Regions from separate parts of the Homo sapiens genome. Here regions 2 and 3 are each linked to region 1. Evidence: promoter capture Hi-C in human tissues and cell types (Jung and others, 2019). All regions are on one chromosome and are shown on one strand. The core of a region is centred on a gene start or on the middle of the fragment in contact, and the rest is flanking DNA. Distances in the headings are between cores, read along the strand shown.

Region 1 (4,174 bases), core at 729-3,228:
CTCACCAGTGAAATAACCTCAGGACTTTTCTTTGACAGTGTTCTTAACCCAGACACCTGTATTTATTACATTTATATATTAAAATGAAGGAGGACACAGAGAGAAAATGCCCTGGTTTGATAAAATGAGCCAATGGAAGCATCAATCTCTGTAACCATAGGGCAGTTTCAGGAGATGCTGCAAATACCGCCCCCAACTCAATCCCCCACTATCCGACTTTTTCCCCCAAATAGCCCCACACAATCCAGGATGTCTGCTTATTTATTTATTTATTTATTTATGCCAAATCTCTACTCCCACTGCTCTGACATTCTGCTTCAGTCTCCCATCCTCTTCCTGCTCCTTCTCCTTCATCCTCACTCCCCACCCTTCCTTCCAGGGCGCTGGCTAAATGTGCTAAGCTGGCAGGCTGTTTCTTCTCCACTCTCTTCCACCCCCTTCGGATTCAGGGAGTGTATTACAAATTGCCCAATTTCCAATACCTGCACTGGAAATTATACCCAAATTCCATCTCTTGCACCCCACCCCTAAGGCAATCAGTCTGCGAAGGGCTTCTTTGACCAAGATTGCCCCCACCACACCCCCACCCCCACCACAGTCAAGCATACGCACACACTCACCCGTATCCCACACCCATTTTTCTCTTTAACCTTTGCCAAAATCACTCAAATGCATTCCAACAAATGTTTGAAAGCTTCTTTTGGAGACTGCCATGGCATGGTCGGTTGCTGCGGAATACCACACTCGTCATTCCTTCCCACTCTCACCCCAATCAAGTTTCTAAAATGTCTTTCAAGAAATAAGCGAGCAATTGGAAATGGCTGTAAAACCTGGGCAGTGGGGGAGGGAAGGAGGGGCTCTGATTCTTGCTAATCTTGGATGTGTCCCTCTTCCTGATGAAAATGAGTCACCATACTTATTATCCAGGATGTTAGCCTGTCTCTGGTCACTGACAATCCCAGGAAAGAAGCAAGGGAAGGGGATAAGAGAAAAGACCTGGTTTCCAACAGGTAATACCCGGCTGTCTTTCCCATCCCATCGGAGCTCCTAGGGGCGTGGTCCACCCTCTCCTCCGACCAGCTGGTGCACAATCGGCTGCTGATCTTAGGAAGGGGATTTTCTCCTTCTGCATGGCCAATTTCTCCCCCAGCCCCAGTTGTCTTAGCTTCTCTTAAAAAAAAAAAAAATCTATCAAATCACAGTTTCATTCATTCATTGAAAAATAAATACTAAATAAATAAGACCTGCACGTTTTTCCATAAATACCTGCGCCCCTTCGAAGCTCATGCATGCACGAAATAAGGCATCTTCCGCAGCACATGTGAGAAAATTGTATGACAGAGAGGCAATACTCAGTTCTGAATATTATTTCCTCAACCCTGCTTTTTTGCAAATAATATAAAGAAATGCCTCCCCATCTTGTAGGTAGAGCCCACATCATCTCCCCCACACCCCTTTCTACGTCCACACCCTCAAGACCAGAGACCTCAAATGCTGAGCATTCACTAATAAGAAAAAAAAAAATTATTTCTAGCCAAACAGGCATGTTTTTTCTACCCTCACCCTAATTAGTAGCAGCATTCCAAAACCAGAGCATGAAAGACAGAAAAGAATAAAAGCTGGGATGCAACCATCAGTTACCATATGCTAAGGAAGCGCGAGCACCACGGCCAGAGCAGAAGCAGTAAAAAAATTGTTTGCCTTTACGGGGAAATACTGTACTCGGGTTATTTCACAACAGCAAGAAGTAAAAAATCTTTAGCTCTACCTGTTTGGTTCTTCTCATACAGCACAGCATGGTTGTCTCGTCCCTTGCCTTCTTCCTGCCTTCTCTCCTTTCCTTCTCTCTCTTTCTTATTCCCCCCCTCTCCACCTCTTTTCTGCTCGCTTGCTCACTCGCTCTCTCGCGCTAGCGCGCTCTCTCTCCCTCCCTCCCTCTCTCTCCCTCACACACACCAGGGCAGTTAGCAGCAACTGTAAGGTCCACAGCTATTGCTCATCGCACATGCTCGCTCCCTCTCTCTAGCGCTCTCTCTCTCTCTCCCTCTCTCTCTGGTGCTCTCTCTCCGCTGTCCTCTCTTCCCTCTCTTCTCCTTTTTTCTCCTTCCCCCCAATATCTATCTATCTGTCTTTTTCTTCCCTCTCTCTCCGTCTCTTTCTCGGAATTGTTCTCTAGCCTTCAGTGACTAATCACTTCCCCCAGCCCCTACCCCCATTCTAGACAGTCGCCCCCTCCCAGTCCCCTGCCAGCCTCATGAATATTTAAACACCTCCAATCTGGACCCAATTACCCACCGACTTTTCCACTGCATTGAGAGGGTGATGGGGTGGGGGCAGAGAAGGATATTCCAGTCAATCCAGGAGATATGATAGAGCATGTTTTAGGGAAGAGGGGCTTGAGGAATCCTTGTATTTCTTTAAGAACTCTTTTCCTCTTTTCCTAGTATTATAAAAGCAAAGAACAGCTATTTCTAAAGAGGAATTGTAGTCAGTCCTATACAATATAAGTCATATCTGCCATTACATTTTATGCATAGTTAATAATTGTGGAGGTTAATTTCCCTCAAAAAATGAAATAACATGTAAATATCATACACTGTTTATATATTCTTCTCAGTATACATATAACCTGAAATAAATACAAAGCTTAGATATGCACAAGCATATTTTATATATGTTCCAATATCCTGGAAAAAAATCCACATAAATATATTGCATTTTAAACATTCTAAGCACTTGAGCTCAGAAATAATAAACAATGTTTAAGAATTGGCATCCATATCTAAAATCACATGGTAGTTTTTTGTTTTTTCCTTAATGCACATATACCTGTTTGTAAATTGTGGTTTCTTCTAATTTTACTGAAAAAGCTGAGCACATTCAAACAGGTCTGTGTAATATTGACGGTGATCAAAATGATATTTTACAATTTGGGCATGAGAGATTAAAGTGAATTCATCTGAGATGAGAAGAAACGATAAGTCATGAAGCCTACTTCTTGAATTCCTTCTATGGCCTTTCATAATTTTGGGGGAGGAACATGTGACTCTTAAAGTGTGTATAGCACAATTTTTAGTTATTTATTGTTGAATGAGTTTGAGTGTGTTACTGAAGCTCTTTGCACCTAATTTTCTCATCTTTAAAATGGAGATAATAATGCCAATCTTGACAACATGTTTTGAGGACTAAATGATATAACGCATGCAAAGCACAACAGTCTCTCTGAGTGTATAATAGCTTTACTCCAGAGACTGTACTTTTCTGAAATTCGGGTGACATTTGCAAGTGAATATCTCAAAGAAGTTTTCAAACTATTTCTTGTTGTTCATTAGTGATGACAAGTACCCCTAATTAAACAGCTCATATTCTTCATAGTCCCTCCTAGACCTCCTAGACATAAACCTAGCTAATAAGTGGCAACTAGGCAGCTTATTGTTAGGCATATTTCAGGATCACTGAGCTCAATAAGTGCTTAGTACATTTTAACATAATTTAAGGTATATCTATTTCAAAATGGACTATCTCAGACAGGTACCTGGGAACGATGGTGATGATGATACCCAGGAGGTGATATTTAAAATTAGCCTTAATTATTCCTCAGGAGTCTTCCTGAGAGTGGCCTGCTTCAGATCCGCTGATTTGGTCTTTCATTCTTCTCAGTTTGCTTCCTAGTTTTCATATTTATGATTAAAAAACAGAATTAGTTTCTGAGTTTAATAATTTTTTAATGTTACAAGGAGCCCAGCCGCTTTCAGAACAGCCTTCCGTGATTTTAAGTGATAAAAGAGGACAAAGAGTGGGTGAGAAATGGCTCCTACCAGAAACATTCCGGTTGCAGATTAGGAACACCCTACCTAGCCTGCTAGTGGCTAAAGAGCAATGAAGGGAGGAGGCAGAGAATGTGGGGATTGGGGATGATGGAGAAGAAATTGCACCTTTTGGTGTTTAAACAGGATAACTCCATTGATAAGACCATTTCATTAACTATGTGGCCAAACTTAAAGAGTGGGACTAATTCCTTTCCCTTTCGATGTACTCACCTCAGCCATCCCATTTATATTTTTCCCCCTTTATATATGGGAAGGAACCTTGGAAACAAAGTGGCATAATGAAGTTAAACAAGCTAGGGCTTAAAACTGGGCACAAGCATTGATGAACTTTGTGACTAAATATG
Region 2 (3,700 bases), core at 1,128-3,627, 72 kb after region 1:
GAGGGCAGCAGCAGAGTGAGGCCAGAAAATAGGTTGAATCCCAATCCAACATGTTTGTATATTTAAAACTATAAGCACTTGGTAATCAAAAGAGACTTTTGAACAGGAGCCAGAAAGAATCAAATTATGTCTGTGAGCCAAATCTCTCTTTCTGCATGGTAAAAGATGGACTGGAGAGATAAGAGCCTGGTGGCCAGCAGAAAAATACAGAACTGTGGCAATAATTCATGAAGTGGATTACCTTCCAACCCTGAAATGACACCAACACCCACCCATTTTCTCAAGCAAGATACTTATGAATCATTTCTGATTCCTCCATTTTTCCCAACTACCACACACCATCCAACAACATCGAGTCCTACTGCTTATACTGAAACATTTATACCAAATCCACTGGCTTCCATTCACATCTGCTGCCATCAGCTAGTTCGGTTACACTTCCCTCATTTGAATTCCAACAGCCTCTTAAGGGATCACTAATTCCACTTTCCTCTTAGTAGCAAGAGTAATAATAAACAAGTGAATTACATTGCATCAATCCTTTGCTTAGAATAATTCATTTCCTGTCAAATCTATCTAGAAGGGAATCCAAATTATTTTTCAGGACTTCAAGATCCTGCATCATCTCACTATTGTTTTTCTCCAAACTAATCTCACAGTACTCTCTCCCAAGTTCATTTTCATCCAGTCACAAAGGTCAGCAACATTTTCCCACCTCACTACCTTAGCATAAGTTTATGCTATCCCCTTCACTTAGAATGGTCTTAACTCTAAAGACTCTCACAAAGCTGTTTTATGTTTATCATTTAATTTATGCCCAAATGTTCCTTCCACAGAGTCCGTCCTGACCATCCTATCTGATAGTAGATTTTGTATATTCTTATTCTTCTCCCCTTGTTTGTTTCATGCATGAAAATTGTTAAAATGTATAATTGTTTTCATTCATTTTCTTGTTCGGTTGTTTTTTGTCTGTCTCCTCCACCAGACTGTAATCTCCATGAGGGCAAAGATCATGTCCTTTTTATGTATTCTTGAATTCCCTAGGGTAGTGGTTAGAAAAGAGTAAATGCTCATATATATTTATAAAAGAAATAATGAATGAATGGATTATTGTGATATGATGGAGCGATAGAGTCATCAGTGCATTAATGGCAGTTAGAGGCTCAGAAAGTCAGTGAGATCACAAATAAAGCATGTGGATCTAAGAGGAGTGTGGACAAAATATAGAAGGAAAATCCTAATAATTATGGAGCAGACAGAAAAGAAGGGGCTTGCTAAAGAGGGAGAGGAGGCCATCAGTGGCTTGAGAAAAGAGAGAGGACCGATAGACGATAAGGGGGTGGCTACAACATGCCACATGCTCTGCTGGATCTCCAGCACCTAGCATAATGCCTGGAGTTTAGTAAGTACTCCCAAAACATTTGCCCATCTATGAGATGAAAGATAAAATAAGAATAGATTCAACAATACCAAATGCTAGGAGGAAACCAATAAAGGTAAGGTGTTAGTAATTAAGATGCTACTGGCCACCTTAACAAGAACATTTACTTTCCAGCATACTATCAAATGAATTTGTTTAATCCATTTATTTCTATTGCTTGCTTCCTCTGCTAGAATGTACACTCCATGAAGTCAGGAAATCTTTCATTCTTTACTGATGATACCAAGCTCCCAGAATAATTCCCGAAAAAGGCATGGAGATGAATATTGGCCTTTTCTTTAAAGCCTCAGTGTATACACAAAAAGAATTGTTTTTAAGAAAGCTTATTTCTTCAGTGAGCCCAGATAATAAGAACATCACTATATCATCAAATCAGCCCATTGTTCTACCAGTGAATCAGCTGAATATTAAATGATTCTAGGACTTGTGCGCAATCATCCCCACAGATTTACTGTGTGATCTGGAGATAGGTTTAAATGTCAGCAGCCATTATTTATTGTTCAATCTGCTCAATGCAAGTCAGTCCTTTAAATCTTTTTATGCAACGACAATAGCAAAGACCAGAGGGCCCTATTTTGTCTTTATCATCATGACACACACCCCTTCGTGCTCACTGAAGCTATTGTAGATAACATTATCTCCCCCTCTCTCCACTCTCCCAATTATTTAAGGCCAAAAGAGACACAAGTTTTATGTAGATCAAGGGTTCACTACCCCAGAGAAATCTACAACAACCTTTTCTAATCAATGTGACTAGTCTCACAATTGGCAGATTATTGTCAAATGTAATTTATTCATTTTTAAACTTAGACTATGCTTCTAATGGCTCTATTTTCTTTCTTCACATTTTTCTTGAGCTTTCCTGAGAAACAGATCTGTTTATATTTCCTGGACTTAACAGAGAAATGTGAAATGGTCTTTCTCATGTGTCTGGTGGTTGAACCCTCTTGTAGTTCTGAATATGTTTTTCAACTACTTTAAAAAAAATTAACTCTAAAATTGGACAAAGTTTTAAATTGACTCATGTTGATTTATATTTCTCCATGTTGAAGAAAATGCTACCTGCTAATAGACTAAGGAGGTTTGGGATAGCAAAAGGGAGGGAAGGCAAGTGAGCAGGATGGTGTGAGGAAATGGCAAGTAAAAGGATTAGGAGGGATGGATGCACAAGAAATTTAGAAAATACTTTGGAGGGAGAAATAACTGACTGTGAGCGTGTTTGTACAGAGAGATTGAATATTTTAAGACTAATCATTTATACCTCTGATTTTTAAATAACAGGTGTGCGTCATATATTTAGATGTCAAAAAACTATTGCTACAAGTGACAACAGAGCCAAAAGGATTGCAATAGCAGGACATCAATTCATCAGGACTGCAGAGGAGAGGAGGCATATGTTCTGACTACTCTCCATTGATTGGTCAGCTGCTGTTTCCATAGCAATCCATGCACAGCTCAGACATTTTTTTTTCCCTATCTGCATTACCTCCATTACATAGCAAACAACATCAAGATTAATAAACAGACATACTTGGTGAATGTAATCAGACACTGAAGCCACTGTTCTCATGGCTGATTTTCTAACTGTAGAAAGTTACAGTCTATATCACACTCCAATCACTGACGAAGCAGCAAAGAAATCATATATTTTGTCATATTGTTGGGAAAAATGACTTCTATCTAGATATTTTCTTGGACCACATCCATATGTTTAGGAAAATAATGGAGTGTGCTTTAAGCTGGAAAGAGTGAATCCACTAGGGTTTCTTCAAATTTCTTCATTTACATGTATATTTAGACTTGCATGTAGAATGAGCACATTTATTTAAGGTGTGGCTGGCATCTAAATAGTTCTTTCAGACTATTTAAAACTATTCCTCTGCATTGTGAATCTGAAAATGTAATAATTGCTCATCCTCAGAAACTTGAACCAGAAAGATATTTTTCGTCCAAGTAGCTTGATGCACTGTTCTCTTCTCTAAATGCAACCAAAAATTTCTGAGTCCTCATTGTAGTGGAATTTGTTGCTGTAGTGGAAGTGGCCATCTGCTTTCCATTTACTCTGCTTTTGAAAACAGTACTTGGTTTATCTTTGGGGAAATTATTCCATCCTTTACTCTGAGGTCATGTACTTTGAGGCAGCTAACTCCATTCCCAGCTCCAGGGGTGGGTAGCAGTTTAGCTCAGGAATGACATATCCGGGTCTAATGTTCCCCTAGCAATGGGGCCAAGAATGGGGTCAAGGCCAATCCAGGAGGC
Region 3 (4,184 bases), core at 1,422-3,921, 110 kb after region 1:
GAAAATTTGGAGCCTAGCCATGTGGTAGAAAAGAAAAGCCCATTTTCAGGGGAGGAATTTCCAGCAAGTTGCAGAAATTTGCATAAGTAAAATGGAACCAAGAACTAATAGCTAAGACTATGGGAAAAAGGCCACAAAGACATTTCGGAGACCTTCACAGCAGCCCCTCCTATAACATGCTCAGAGGCCTGGGAAGGAAGAATGGTTTCATAGGCCAGGCCCAGGGCCCTGTTGGCCTAGAAAGCCTCAGGATACTGCTCCCTGAATCCTAGCCACTCCAGCTCCAGCCATGGCTAAAAGGGGCCCAGGTATAGCTCAAGCTGCTGCTTCAGAGGGTGCAAGCCATAAGCCTTGGTGGCTTCCACGTGGTGTTAAGCCTGCAGGTGCTCAGAATGCAAGAGTTGAGGCTTTGGAGCCTCCACCTATATTTCAGAGGATGTATGGAAAAGTCTGGATGTCCAGGCAGAAACCTGCTGCAGTGGCAGAGTCCTCACAGAGAACCTCTGCTAGGTCAATACAGAGGGAAAATGTGGGAGTTGGAGCCCCCACACAGAGTCCCCACTACTGGAACTGTAAGACCCCAGACCCAGAATGGTAAATCCACCAGCAGCTTGCACCCTGAGCTTAGAAAAGCTGCACGCACTCAACAACAGCCCATGAGAGCAACTGCAGGGGCTGATCCCTGTAAAGCCACAGGGGTGGAGCTGTCCAAGGCCTTGGGAGCCCACCCCTTATACCAGTGTGTGCTGGATTTGGGATATGGAGTCAAGGAACATTATTTTGGAGCTTTAAAGTTTAATGACTGCCCTGCTGGGTTTCAGACTTGCATGGGGCCTGTAGTCCCCTTCTTCTGGCTCCCTTTTGGAGTGGGAGTATTCACCCAATGCCTACAACCACATTTTATCTTAGGAGTAACTAACTTGTTTTTGATTTTACATGCTCATAGGCGGAAGTGCCTAGCCTTGTCTCAGATGAGACTCTGAGCTGTGGACTTTTGACTTAACACTGGAAAGAGTTAAGATTTTGGGAGACTGTTGGGAAGGCATGATTGGATTTTGCACTGTGAGAAGGACATGAGATTTGGGAGGGGCCTGGGGCAGAATGATATAATTCAGATCTGTGTCCCCACCCAAATCTCACCCTAAGTTCCAACTTTAGATCATTTCTTAGCTCACACATATGAGCATAGGCTATTAGCCATGTCATATCTTGAACACTCTGCTGCTTAGAATTTCTTCTGCCACATACCCTAAATCATCACTCTCAAGGGCAAAGTTTCACAGATCCCTAGAGTAGGGGCACAATGCAGCCAGGCTCTTTGCTAAAGCATAGCAAAAGTGATCTCTACTCCAGTTCCCAATAAGTTCCTCATTTCCATATGAGACCTCCTCAGCCTGTACTTCATTGTCCATATCACTATCAGCATTTGGGTCACAACTATCAACAAGTCTCTAGGAAATTACAAATGTGGAGCTGTAATCCCCAATGTCAGAGGTAGAGCCTGGTGGGAGATAATTGGCTCATGGGAGCAGATTTCTGCCTTGGTACGTGTTGCCATAGTGAGAGAGTTCTCCTGAGATCTGGTTGTTTAAAAATGTGTGGCACCTGCCCCACCTCTCTTGCTTCCTTCTGCTCTGGTTGGGTGAAGTGCCTCACTCTCCCTTTGCCTTAAGTCATGATTGTAAGCTTCCTGAGGCCTATCCAGAAACAGAAGCTGCTATACCTCCTGTACAGCCTGTGGAACCATGAACCAATTAAACTTCTTTTCCTTATAAATTACCCAGTCTCAGGTATTTCTTTACAGCTGTGTGAGAATGGACTAATACAAGGATCCTAACCTCTTCAAGGGCTTAAGACGTCCTGTTCTATATCTTTTTTTCCCCTTAATGTCTTGTTTCACTACTTGTTTTTCCCCCTCCATCTTTTCTACTATTTATGACTCAATTTCTTTTTTATGTGTTTATTTTATCCCTTCTGTCTCTTCTTTAAGCTATTAGTGATGTCAAGTGGTCACTCCTCAAATTACTAAACTCATTTCTAGGAATTGCCATGCCATATTGACTATCATTACAAAAATGTACCATGCAAATACATTTGACTGTGTTCAGATGACTGAGGTGTCCACATGTCTATGGGTGTTTATTTGAAGTAAAGAAGCTAGAGGATTATATTCAGTTATCCAGAAACTTGGCAGAATGGCATTAAAGAAAGTAAATTAGGAGTCCAAAGATTCTGCAGTGAACCATGTGAGAAGAATGAAACAATAAAAATAAAATAATTTGACTCTTGGCTTTCTGCCCTTTTTCATTAAAAATTGCTAATATTCTGCTTCATTGCCAAAACTCTGGGAAGATGTTTTTTATTATACCTATATTCCTCAGCCAACTGAGAGTAGGGCCTTGAAAACAAGCCCTTCGTAACTAATATCTCAATGACACAGAAACTATGACTAGTTTGAGCACATGTGGCTTCTTTTTCCTGTCCTTTCTAGAAATAATTGCCCTCCTTTAATTTCATTTCTGCCTGATATCTTCCATCCAAAGGCCAAGACTTAGCCTTTGGCTTCTGTGTCCTTTAATGTATTCCTGAATATCTCCTAATTTTCTAATGAAAACTTGATAGTTCATGACCGAGCAACACGCACTAAGTTCAGACCATAAGTGTTACATATTTCAAAAATTTCTCCAACATTTGTGATGGAGCTGCCAATCATCTCTTAATTCCTATGTGCCATGACTCTGAAAATGAGCCCCAAATGGCACAAATACCTTCTTTATTTCAGCCCTGTCTCAACTACAAAATAATCTCAATGCCCTTCATATGCCTATGGTTCTCACTCAGCCTAAACCCAAATACATTTTAAAGCGTTCTTTCTCACAATTCTACCTTCTGGGTTTATTTTTAAATGAAACCATTAAAGCTTGAACCTCTAATATCAAAATAAAATGGGTTAGGCAAGTGGTAAAAATGGAATAGAAGCCAAGCCAGAGTTTCCTATAAGTTGCAGCAATAGCAATACGTCATCAGAGAGGGAAAAAATAGGAAAATTAGCTTGCTCTGTCACTTGACAATTTTACAGAACTGGAATTTTATATGGAATAGGCATTTGGGTTAAACTTTTTCTATTCTACCCCTGCAGAACTTTTCCCTGCGCTTCTCTCCTCTGCATCTATTATAAAAGTCTAGACCTCAGAGGCAACTAATATAAACTGCTTTCCCCTCCTCCTTGTATCTAATTAATTTCACCTTCCTTGGAGTTCCCATGGTATATATTACCTGCTGCCAGGCACCATGAGTCATTTGTGAACATATCCGCCTCCCCAGCCAGAATGTATGCACCTTGAAGGCAAAGAACATCTCACTCATTTTGCATACACTTGGCTCGAAGTAGTCCTCTGAAAGTGTTTATTAAATTGAATTGCTTTCACTTTGTAAGATTAGCAGGCACTTTGATTAATGGCTTTTTCTTTTTTTCAAAGACTTCCTTTTTTGGTGCAAACTCCACGTGACCCGCAGTTATCTAGGGCAGTAAGTAATGTTCAAGTGATTATAGCAGAAAGCTAAGATTCCACCAGCGCTCTGGGAGTTGCAGGGGAGATCAGCAGAATCACATGCTTAATATTTTAAAGAAGTGGCATGGTCCTTTCATGGAGGTTTCTGCCATCGATCCCTTCCAAGGATTCAGTCACTCAGCCACATTTAACATTCACTAGGTCAGACCTTTATTCAAGCTGACGTCATCTGAACCCTCGTGCAATTCAATCATAGCATACATTCTGCCCAACCTCCTCCTACTCCTCCCCCAGCCTCTTGCTAGGGTGTCAGCCAATAAACAGCAGTTAATCCAGACCCCAGAACTTTTCGAATCCGTCTTTCCAGAGCTTCTATTTAGTTATGCTGCAGGGGAAAGGGTCGAGAGTGAAAGATAGAGGCGTGGCCCCTCCCATAGCAGCAATGAATCTTTAAGACTTGAGTCTCTGGGCAAAGAGAGAACTCTCCCTTTCTTCTTGGAAATGAAATCGAGCAGCACTATCAGCCAGGGGCCAGCCACATGAAAAGGGATTCCTAGTTGCCTGTCCCTTACTCCCGGATGTCAGAAAGAAGTCGGATATTTCTCACGCAAGAAATAAACACCCCTCTGCCCGCTGCTGCTTCCTCTGATTTCTCCGCGAGCATGAGATGAC

What was found. The method cuts DNA at HindIII sites, captures the fragments that hold promoters and counts their contacts. A contact is called where the count stands out against the background at its distance.
Region 2: a contact is called between a fragment that was not itself captured here and the fragment with the promoter of GAP43 in region 1, in 3 of the 25 tissues and cell types used here (heart left ventricle, hippocampus and spleen).
Region 3: a contact is called between a fragment that was not itself captured here and the fragment with the promoter of GAP43 in region 1, in 3 of the 25 tissues and cell types used here (dorsolateral prefrontal cortex, heart left ventricle and thymus).

The regions. Positions count from the first base shown.
Region 1 is chr3:115,621,314-115,625,487 of GRCh38, reverse strand. It overlaps GAP43 (growth associated protein 43), which reads right to left and starts at 1,978. Exons shown (of 3, transcript NM_002045.4): 1 at 1,769-1,978. The coding sequence starts at 1,798. The HindIII fragment of the contact is 4,830 bases long and covers 317-4,174 here.
Region 2 is chr3:115,550,475-115,554,174 of GRCh38, reverse strand. No RefSeq gene overlaps it. Among named protein-coding and RNA genes, the nearest start is that of GAP43, 71 kb to the left of the region's middle. The HindIII fragment of the contact is 6,816 bases long and covers 1-3,700 here.
Region 3 is chr3:115,512,859-115,517,042 of GRCh38, reverse strand. No RefSeq gene overlaps it. Among named protein-coding and RNA genes, the nearest start is that of GAP43, 110 kb to the left of the region's middle. The HindIII fragment of the contact is 4,102 bases long and covers 621-4,184 here.